3 separate regions of the Homo sapiens genome follow, and regions 1 and 2 are each linked to region 3. Evidence: promoter capture Hi-C in human tissues and cell types (Jung and others, 2019). All regions are on one chromosome and are shown on one strand. The core of a region is centred on a gene start or on the middle of the fragment in contact, and the rest is flanking DNA. Distances in the headings are between cores, read along the strand shown. Region 1 holds the start of BLMH (bleomycin hydrolase). Region 2 overlaps BLMH (bleomycin hydrolase). Region 3 holds the start of SLC6A4 (solute carrier family 6 member 4).

Region 1 (2,700 bases), core at 55-2,554, 56 kb after region 3:
TTTAGTACAATTTTGTTGTGAGAATGTGCTCCTTATTTAGATTGCTGGATATCCAATCTTTCACTATACCTGTTTTTTCTGAGAGTGGTGCTAGAAAGCAGATAGCAAAACGAGACTTCTTGACCAGCAAGGCATGAGAACAGAACTTTTTTCTGTATTACAAACTGATCTACTGGTGGGAACTGAGCCCATCAGCACATTAGCTTCAGTTGTAACCAAGAAGCATATTTAAAAGTAACATCTGATGACATTTTAATGTAATTACATTGTATCTTTTCTATTTCATAGTATAGGGCCTTCAGGGCATTTCTGGGGAGTCCTCCAAAGATATGAACATTTTCACATGTTCTGTTTTGTGACCAAGACCATACATCTCCAAGACACGGGCTACAAACCACACAGCATTGGAACATAATATAGTCAATTACACTCAAACGTATACTCATGGACATGTCACTTTTGTACTCTAACCGCATGTACTAACAAGCCACAGAACAGCAAAACAAACCACATGGGTAATGTTCTTAGACCTGCCTGTACCTGTGCCTCATTCTTTACGAATTTACGACCAGTTCTTTCAGTACGAATTTAAGACCACTCTTAAATAAGACACCAAAATGGGACGCTGTCAGGAAGGTCAAGGAACGTATGGGAGAAGTGGAAGCCCACACCTGAGCTCTTCTGGTTGGTGATTGGCTTGCCCTCCTGGGGCACGGCGTGCTGGAACACATGCTGCGCGCGCTGCACCGTGGCCCGCTTCAGACAGATGTCCAGCAGGTCGTGGGTGGTCCCGACATTCTGGGCAAGTACGAACTGGGGGTCGGAATTCAGTTTCTGTATCAGAGCAGCTACCTTCTCCGAATTCAGTCCTGTTGGGAGACCAAACAGGATTTTAACGCAAAAAGAGGGGGAAAGGGCTGATCTGGGGCTCCCGCGTCCCGAATCTAACTTCGTAAGCGCATCCTGGGGTGCCCGCTGCAGCGGGGAAACCCATAAGCGGCATCCTCCTCCAAGGAGCTGTCTCCCTCCAGGCCGATCCAGCCTGCCCCGAAAGCTCCCTCCCCGCCATCGCCAAGGGTCCCAGCCCCCGGCCTTCCCCGCCGCCGGGCCTCACGGGGACCGCGGAGCTCCTCCAGAGGACCGCGGCGGGGGACGGCGGCACCTCACCCGAGCTGCTCATGGCGCCCACGCTGCCCGGCGGGGTAACGGTAGCTTCCAGGGTCCTTGGGCGAGCGCCGGGATTGCGCTGCGGCTCGCTGCCTAGGGGGCCCGACCTGTCTCTCGCACCCGGAGCGCCGGAAAAAGGAAACCGGCTCGGCGGCGGCGGCGGCGGCGGCGGCGGGGAGGCTGAGGCTGGGAGAAACGGGGTCCGCGGAGGGACAAAACTCCCCCCTCGCGTTGCTGAGTCAGCGCCGTCGGGGCTGGCCCCGCCCGGGGGAGGGCCGACGGGGGCGGCCTAGCTGACGCGCTGGGTCCGCCAGCGCCCGGGGGCTGAGGCCGCGCCTGCCCCCGCGCAGGACCGCACAGATGGTCTGCGCGCCAGGGCGGCGCCGGCGCCTTCTCCCCCTAGGTTCCCGCCTCCGGGCCGCGCGGGCGCCCTCCCGGGATCAGGCCCGCTCCAAGGAGGGAGGCTGACGGGTTCCCTGTGGGCCCAGACCCCCAGTACTCTAGCATCGGGGAATCGTCCCCAGGAAGCCTTGTGAGAAGCCAAAAGGGAGCTCGAGGCGGGAGGGAGGAGCTGAGAGGTCCCATAATTAAGCGTCGGGCTTAGGACGGGTCGATATGTCACAAGGAATGCACCCGAAGGCTCTTCCTATAGGCTTCGTTTGCTGACCAATCACTGCATTCTCAATGGCAACTTGTTGCTTGGATTCTCATCAGAAGCAAATAATTGTCTTTGAGGGGGAATGGGAACCAAGCTCTTCCCCACCCACTCCAAAGCTACTACCAGAGTTCTACAAATAGACATCTGCTCATTTCAAGAACACTACCCATCTGGTCTTCACGGAGTCCACGAGTGGCTCCTGTATAGTCCAGCATGTCCCGTTGGGTTTAACTCAGGAGGATGACAGAGGCTAGCCGTATGCATCAATATTGTTTCGCCGAGTTCTCTACAAAACTAACTGATGCTCCCCCTCTAGGCTTTCAAGATAACTCAACAGTTTCCCAAAGTTTTGAGATTGTAAAAACCTTGTTTTTGTTGATTCCGTGTTTCATGCCCTGAAATCTCAGCCCTTAGTAAGATGCTGGGATAGAACCCACAGAGAGTAAAACAAAAACACTGAAACCCTGTATCTGCTATTCAAAACGATGAGGTTGAGTGTGTGTGTGTGTAACCTAGAATCTAGGTCTTCTTAGATTGAAAATCATCGCAGTTCTAAGGAACTCTGATATCTGGAAAAATCCATACTCAGGCACCAATCAGTCATTTGAGAAAGCACGGTTTCTATGTCCCTAGAGAGACTCGGCTAAAAATTGGGGCTATAACATAGCAACTATCTTAAGTGGGCCCATCAACCATCCTATTCTGAGGTTCTTTCAATATCTGAAAAAGAAGAGGCTGAAAATTATACAGAAAGAAATCACTGGTCCTTTCACAAAATGATGTTCAAGCATCCTGCCCAATTCAAGTCATAAATTTTTATTCAGTATCTAACATGTACTAGGCACTGGACAAACTGCTGATGACATAGAGACGAA
Region 2 (2,700 bases), core at 97-2,596, 35 kb after region 3:
AGTGGAGACAGGGTCTCGCCATGTCGGTCAGGCTAGTCCTGAACTCCTGACCTCAGGTGATCCTCCCGCCTCAGCCTCCCAAAGTGCTGGGATTTCAGGTGTGAGTCACTGCACCCGGTCTAAAATTCCTTTTATAACCTAACTTTATGTTTTGTTTATAATTCAAATGTGAGAATTTTGTTAAATTGGGGTGATAACACTTAAATCACCTTTTGCTGTTTTAAAATGACTTTTCTTGATCTACATAAGTAATGCAAATTATACTCCACACATTCTCCTGGGTAACCCTAAAAACCTGTTTCTTGGTGTGGGAGTCTCGCTAACTACAGAGCTGAGATTACTGACGAATGGAATAATGAGGAAAACAGCTCGCTGGTTTACAAGACCTCAACCTTTACATTTATTTATGAAAACTACATGAGGATCAGGAGTATCAGCATTAAGACTGCCTCTTAAGTTCAGGGCACCTTTACACCATACTGTGTTTGATCTCATATAAAACTGAGAATACCTCAGAGTTCTACTACTTAAAGCACTAGCCTTATAATTTGCAGGAATGTAATTAAACCTTTAAGACCAAGTTTTGAATACAGAGAGAGCACAGGGATCTTAGATGCTGTGGGGTTGAAAGGGCACCCTTCAAGTGAAGTAGTTGGAAGAGGTGAGAAAAAGGTACAGAAAGAAAACCCCATCCCACTCACAATTCTGCATAGAGTATAAAAAGCAAATCAGGACTTTTAGATAGGCTAGTTAGGAAAATGTGGCATAATGATATGCTAAGATATTTCTAAACATTTTAAAGATCATAAATCTAGTGGATAGGATAGCAAAAACAATTCTCTATCAAACCATTTTCTAGCTGGGTGCGGTGGCTCATGCCTGTAATCCCAGCACTTTGGGAAGCTGAGGCGGGCAGATCACCTGAGGTCAGGAGTTCGAGACCAGCCTGGCCAACATGGCAAAACCCCACTTCTACTAAAAATACAAAAAAATCAGCTGGGTGTGTTGGCGGGCACTTGTAATCCCAGCTACTCGCAAGGCTGAGGCAGGAGAATCTTTTGAGCCCCAGAGGTGGAGGTTGCAGTGAGCTGAGATCACACTACAGCACTCCTGCCTGGATGACAGAGTGAGACTCCATCTCAAAAAAAAAAAAAAAAAATGATTTTCTAGAACAATTTATATAAGGTAGTTATTCTGTGACTTTCCAGGAATTAGGCTAGAAAGAATATTTTTGCTTGTGGTGGTAAAGAATTAAAGTAGTTCAAGTTCTTCCTTCCTGATGATCCTGAGCACAGAGGTGAAAATATCTATTTTTACTGACTGGAAGTGAGGAGTTTATTTGTGAAAGATAAAATTTCAGTTGTTTCCAACTCTATAACCTATAAAAAGTGGTATTACTATACACACTATTTCACAGGAAATTCAAAATACTTTACATCCAATTTCCTGAAGCTCTGCATATAACTAGAAATGGGTATGGAGTCCACAAATTACTGTTATTGACATTTTACTGCAAAAGAATCTGAATGACAAATGAAGGGAAATCTGAACATAGGTCATCAAGATATGAACACTTTCAGGGCACATTTTGATTCCTTATAAAGTAGAAGTTATCTTCTCTCAAGTTCCCTTGCTGACTTCTCTTTAAACCATGACCTTCCAAAGTTACAGAAACAGTTACTTGGTCGCTCCCTGCTGACCCAAATTCTCCTCATAGAAAGTTCCTATTTTTATATTACCTCTAAGCACGCAGCCAAGCCCCAAGTGACGCAGGTACGATGTCTTACTTGGAAACTAACTTTTAACAGAAATCATATACACTATGAATGAAGCTTTGTTGGGTAAACAGTCTACAGGAGAATGTAGATCCATCTGTGCAAACACTCCAGCAGGCATGCTGAGGGTCATACCTTCTCTGAGACAGCAGTGAAGGTCATGGCGTGGGTCATAAGTGACTCACCAAAAGTCAGCCTCTCCGCTTTATTCATGTTCTTCAAGGAGACACCAAACACTAACTCATGGTCATAGCTGTAAAAAGAATGATAGTACAAAATAAAGGGAGTACGATCATGGGGAAAACTGGCTTTTGGTTGTAAAAGGAATTCAGAAGAAACTGAAGGGGCTCAACAGCTCCAAATAAATAAGGCTCTAGCTGTAGCTCTTCAGAAAGAATATGGAACATGCAGAACTTAGTCTCTCAGTGGGAGTCCATTCTCTATGTGTCACAAGAGTATGCAGGAAAAAAAGGAGATGATTAAACATAAATTCTCCACATCAGAAGCTGACAAGTTTACATTGTCATTTAGGCAAGAAAACTTTAAAAAATAATGAAAAAAGCGTTTGAAGTAACTTCTTAGAAAACTGATCTCTTTTGAGCTGGTGGAACCAACCAGTTTCTGAATTCATTTAAATCACTGCTGATTAAAATTTAAATAAATAATGTCCAAAATATTGGGGAATATTTTTGCATAAGCACTACACTCACATTGTTAAATACAAAGAAACAAAAGGCAAAATACATGTGAGAGAGGTCCTTGCATGTTCTAGTTAGTGTGAGAGACACACTTGGGAGTTGCATGTACCTGTTTTCAAAAATTTTTTAAACCTCATTAATTCTTTTTTTTAGCAGATTTCTCTATCAAGATATTTACTCAACTTCCTACAAGTAACAACTATTTATAAGTAACCCTAAAATAGAGA
Region 3 (2,700 bases), core at 1-2,500:
AACGGTCACTGCCACCCCAGAGTGCGTGGCAGGAAAACCCGAACCCTGGGGCCTCAGTGGCTTCACACAGAAGCAAGTAATGGGACAAAGAGTCAAAGCTGTGTGCTCCCTACGCTCCTAAAAACCCAACACTGACGCTGCCCACAGTTCTCTGTTTCATTAAACACAAGTCCCAATGTCACCTTCTTAGACATTTTTCCTATGTAACTGAAGGCAAAACACATTAAATATTTGCTCTCGTCTTCCTATGATGAGAGTTAGCTAGCAGGCTCATAAATAATCCATTGACCAGGTTCACTTTTCTGGACAAAACTGATGGTAAAAATACATACACAAAGTCTTTGTAATGTCTGATTCAGAAATTCTACCCCTCTCAAATTCTTCAGAGTCCCAAATGGAAAAGGAACAATTCAATATGCAAAAGCCCCAGTTCAGAAGAAAATCTGCTCCTTAGCCCAAGACCCAAATCCACTCTTGAGCTCCAGAGAGCTTTTTTTCAAGAACAAGTTTGAATGTACACAATTTTCAAGCAAATGATGGTTATATCCTTCAACCACGTAGCACAGTCGTTGGAGTTGGAGTTTCACATACATTCTGAATGGCCTGTGAGGTGTCTGAGAGCGCCTCAGCTCTGACAGTGAAACCACCCAAGCGCACGGAGACTCGGCCCACTTAGGCGCCACTCAGAGATTTCTCTAGCTGTCTGGGCATTTGTGTCAACCAGAACTCTCCCTTTGCATAAAGCCACCTGCACGCGATGACAGCAAAGTAAAGATCAAACATAAACCATGGGTTGAAACGAAAGCAAGCAACTCTTCCCAAAGCGCAGGACAGCACTTTGCTCAAGACCCTCTTTAAGGGGTCTTTCACGGGTCCTCAAGAGGTTGCAAAGCCCCTGCAACAATAGACAAAGGAGCCCCCTACGCCCGCCCACTTCGAGCACTCCACGTTCCTCGTCTCCCACTCTGGCCGGTCAGCTTCAGCTCTGGCTCTTGCTGAGCGTGGAGGGCGCAGGGGCAGGATCCGGCGCCCACCGCTGGGGCGCATGCACCTCCTCGCCTCCTCGCAGGGCGGTGGGGCGCAGCGGTTCTATCCCCCTCCCCGAGGCGGGGAAGAAGGTCTGGAAAGAAACGTGGGTTCGAGGCGGAGAGGAAAAGCGGACCCACCTGCCAGGCTGCGCGGGGAGGCTGGTCCCGGGCTGGGCAGGCGGGCTGGCCTCGCGCCCTCGAGGCACCCGGCGGCGCTGGCTGTGCGGAGGGGCGCCGGCGCGGCCGTATTTGTACCCGCGGGCCCTCACATGGTCTGATCTCTAGATAGCCGCCGCCAAAGAGCTCTTGAAGAATTTTTGCGTCACTTTGAGGCGAATAAACTTAATGCTTCCCCGCGGCCGCGGCTCCGCGCTCCCGCTGGATGGGGTTGCGCTCGCCAGGGAGGGGCCGCGCTACGGGGCGGGGTGCGCGCCCGACCCCAGAGCCAGGAGGGGAGGGACCCCCGACACACACACACGCTCGCAGGGAGGAGCGGAGCGCGGAGCAGCCGGCAGGGCAGGGCCGAGCGAGGAATCCTGACTTTCCTGCTCTTTAACTTTGCGGGAGGGGGGAGGCTGCACAAAGGAGCAGGTGTGCGCCTCCCCTGCCGCCCCGCGCCCACAGGACGGCACACAGGGGTCTGCTCGTGCCGCTTTCTCTTGACCTCGGACACCTCCCCATCGTCCCCATCCCGAAAGCTGCTCTCTCTTTCTTCCTGGGACCTAGCAGTACTCGATACCCATGCGTTTATCTGACTGACCGGCTGGGATGTGAGCTCAGCTTAGAGGCCCTTGTCTAATTCCTCTCCGTCCCCAGAGTCTCACAATAAAGACTTCCACAATGAAGGAATGAAGAACTGGTTCTCATTTTGTTAACCAGCTACAGTTCAAAGCTGCGTCAAAAAGGAGCACAGTGCTTTGGGAGGCTGAGGCGGGAGGATTGCTTGAGCCCAGGAATTCAAGACCAGCCTGGGCAACACAGCAAGACCCCATCTCTAGAAAAAAAATTTTTTTAATTAGCCGGGCGTGGTTGCTCGCGCTTGTGTTCCCAGCTACTCAGGAGGCTGAGGTGGAGGATCAGCTGAGCCCGGGAGGTCGAGGCTGCAGTGAGCCGTGATCGAACCACTGCACTCCAACCTGGTGACAATTTGAATTATCTGAAAGGGCCCAGCAGGAGCCTATTGTTTTGAACCATGTGCATGTAGTTTTGATAATTTTTTCAAAAAGTTTAAAAATTGATTTAATGTTAATATCCTTTTTGCTAAAATTATTTAAAACTTTAAAAAGGGCACATGCAGTACTTGCTTTGGGTTGTCCCTGAGGCGGAAAGGAGAGGGCTCTACCTCTCCCCAAGAGGAGGCCAGGAACGATAGGAAGTAGAAGACCGAAAGGAAATAGCAGTGACAAGTTTGCAGCTCCAGAGAAGCCACCGCCCCTTGTACTTGGAGGAACTGACCCCTGAAAACTGTGCGGCCGGTTGGGCTGAGCGTCTAGAGGGACTGAGCTGGACAACCACGGGCAAGCGAGGGCAGCTCCCAGCGGGTGGAGTCCGCGCGGGATTCTGGTGCCACCTAGACGCCAGGGCGGGGACCGCAAGGTGGGCGGGAGGCTTGGAGGCCGGGATGCGGGGGAATACTGGTAGGGTGCAAGGAGAATGCTGGAGGGGTGCAGGG

Evidence for each region. Contacts are between HindIII fragments. The study calls those that stand out against the background at their distance.
Region 1: the fragment with the promoter of BLMH here is called in contact with the fragment with the promoter of SLC6A4 in region 3 in 3 of the 25 tissues and cell types used here (adrenal gland, lymphoblastoid cells and mesenchymal stem cells).
Region 2: a fragment that was not itself captured here is called in contact with the fragment with the promoter of SLC6A4 in region 3 in 7 of the 25 tissues and cell types used here (lymphoblastoid cells, mesenchymal stem cells, mesendoderm cells and 4 more).

What each region holds. Positions count from the first base shown.
Region 1 is chr17:30,290,640-30,293,339 of GRCh38, forward strand. BLMH (bleomycin hydrolase) reads right to left here and starts at 1,305. Exons shown (of 12, transcript NM_000386.4): 1 at 1,168-1,305; 2 at 672-869. The coding sequence starts at 1,180. RefSeq lists an enhancer at 526-585 and silencers at 1,036-1,105, 1,306-1,715. The HindIII fragment of the contact is 11,402 bases long and covers 1-2,700 here.
Region 2 is chr17:30,269,361-30,272,060 of GRCh38, forward strand. BLMH (bleomycin hydrolase) reads right to left here. Exons shown (of 12, transcript NM_000386.4): 10 at 1,911-2,028. Among named protein-coding and RNA genes, the nearest start is that of BLMH, 21 kb to the right of the region's middle. The HindIII fragment of the contact is 4,054 bases long and covers 1-2,700 here.
Region 3 is chr17:30,234,447-30,237,146 of GRCh38, forward strand. SLC6A4 (solute carrier family 6 member 4) reads right to left here and starts at 1,251. Exons shown (of 15, transcript NM_001045.6): 1 at 1,167-1,251. It also overlaps a transcript of LOC105371720 not described here. RefSeq lists promoters at 1,035-2,700, 1,035-2,700, 1,035-1,329, 1,225-2,700, 1,230-2,700 and 1 more, cis regulatory regions at 1,330-2,700, 1,691-2,515, 2,392-2,431, 2,659-2,700, 2,698-2,700 and a silencer at 1,485-1,667. The HindIII fragment of the contact is 6,948 bases long and covers 1-2,700 here.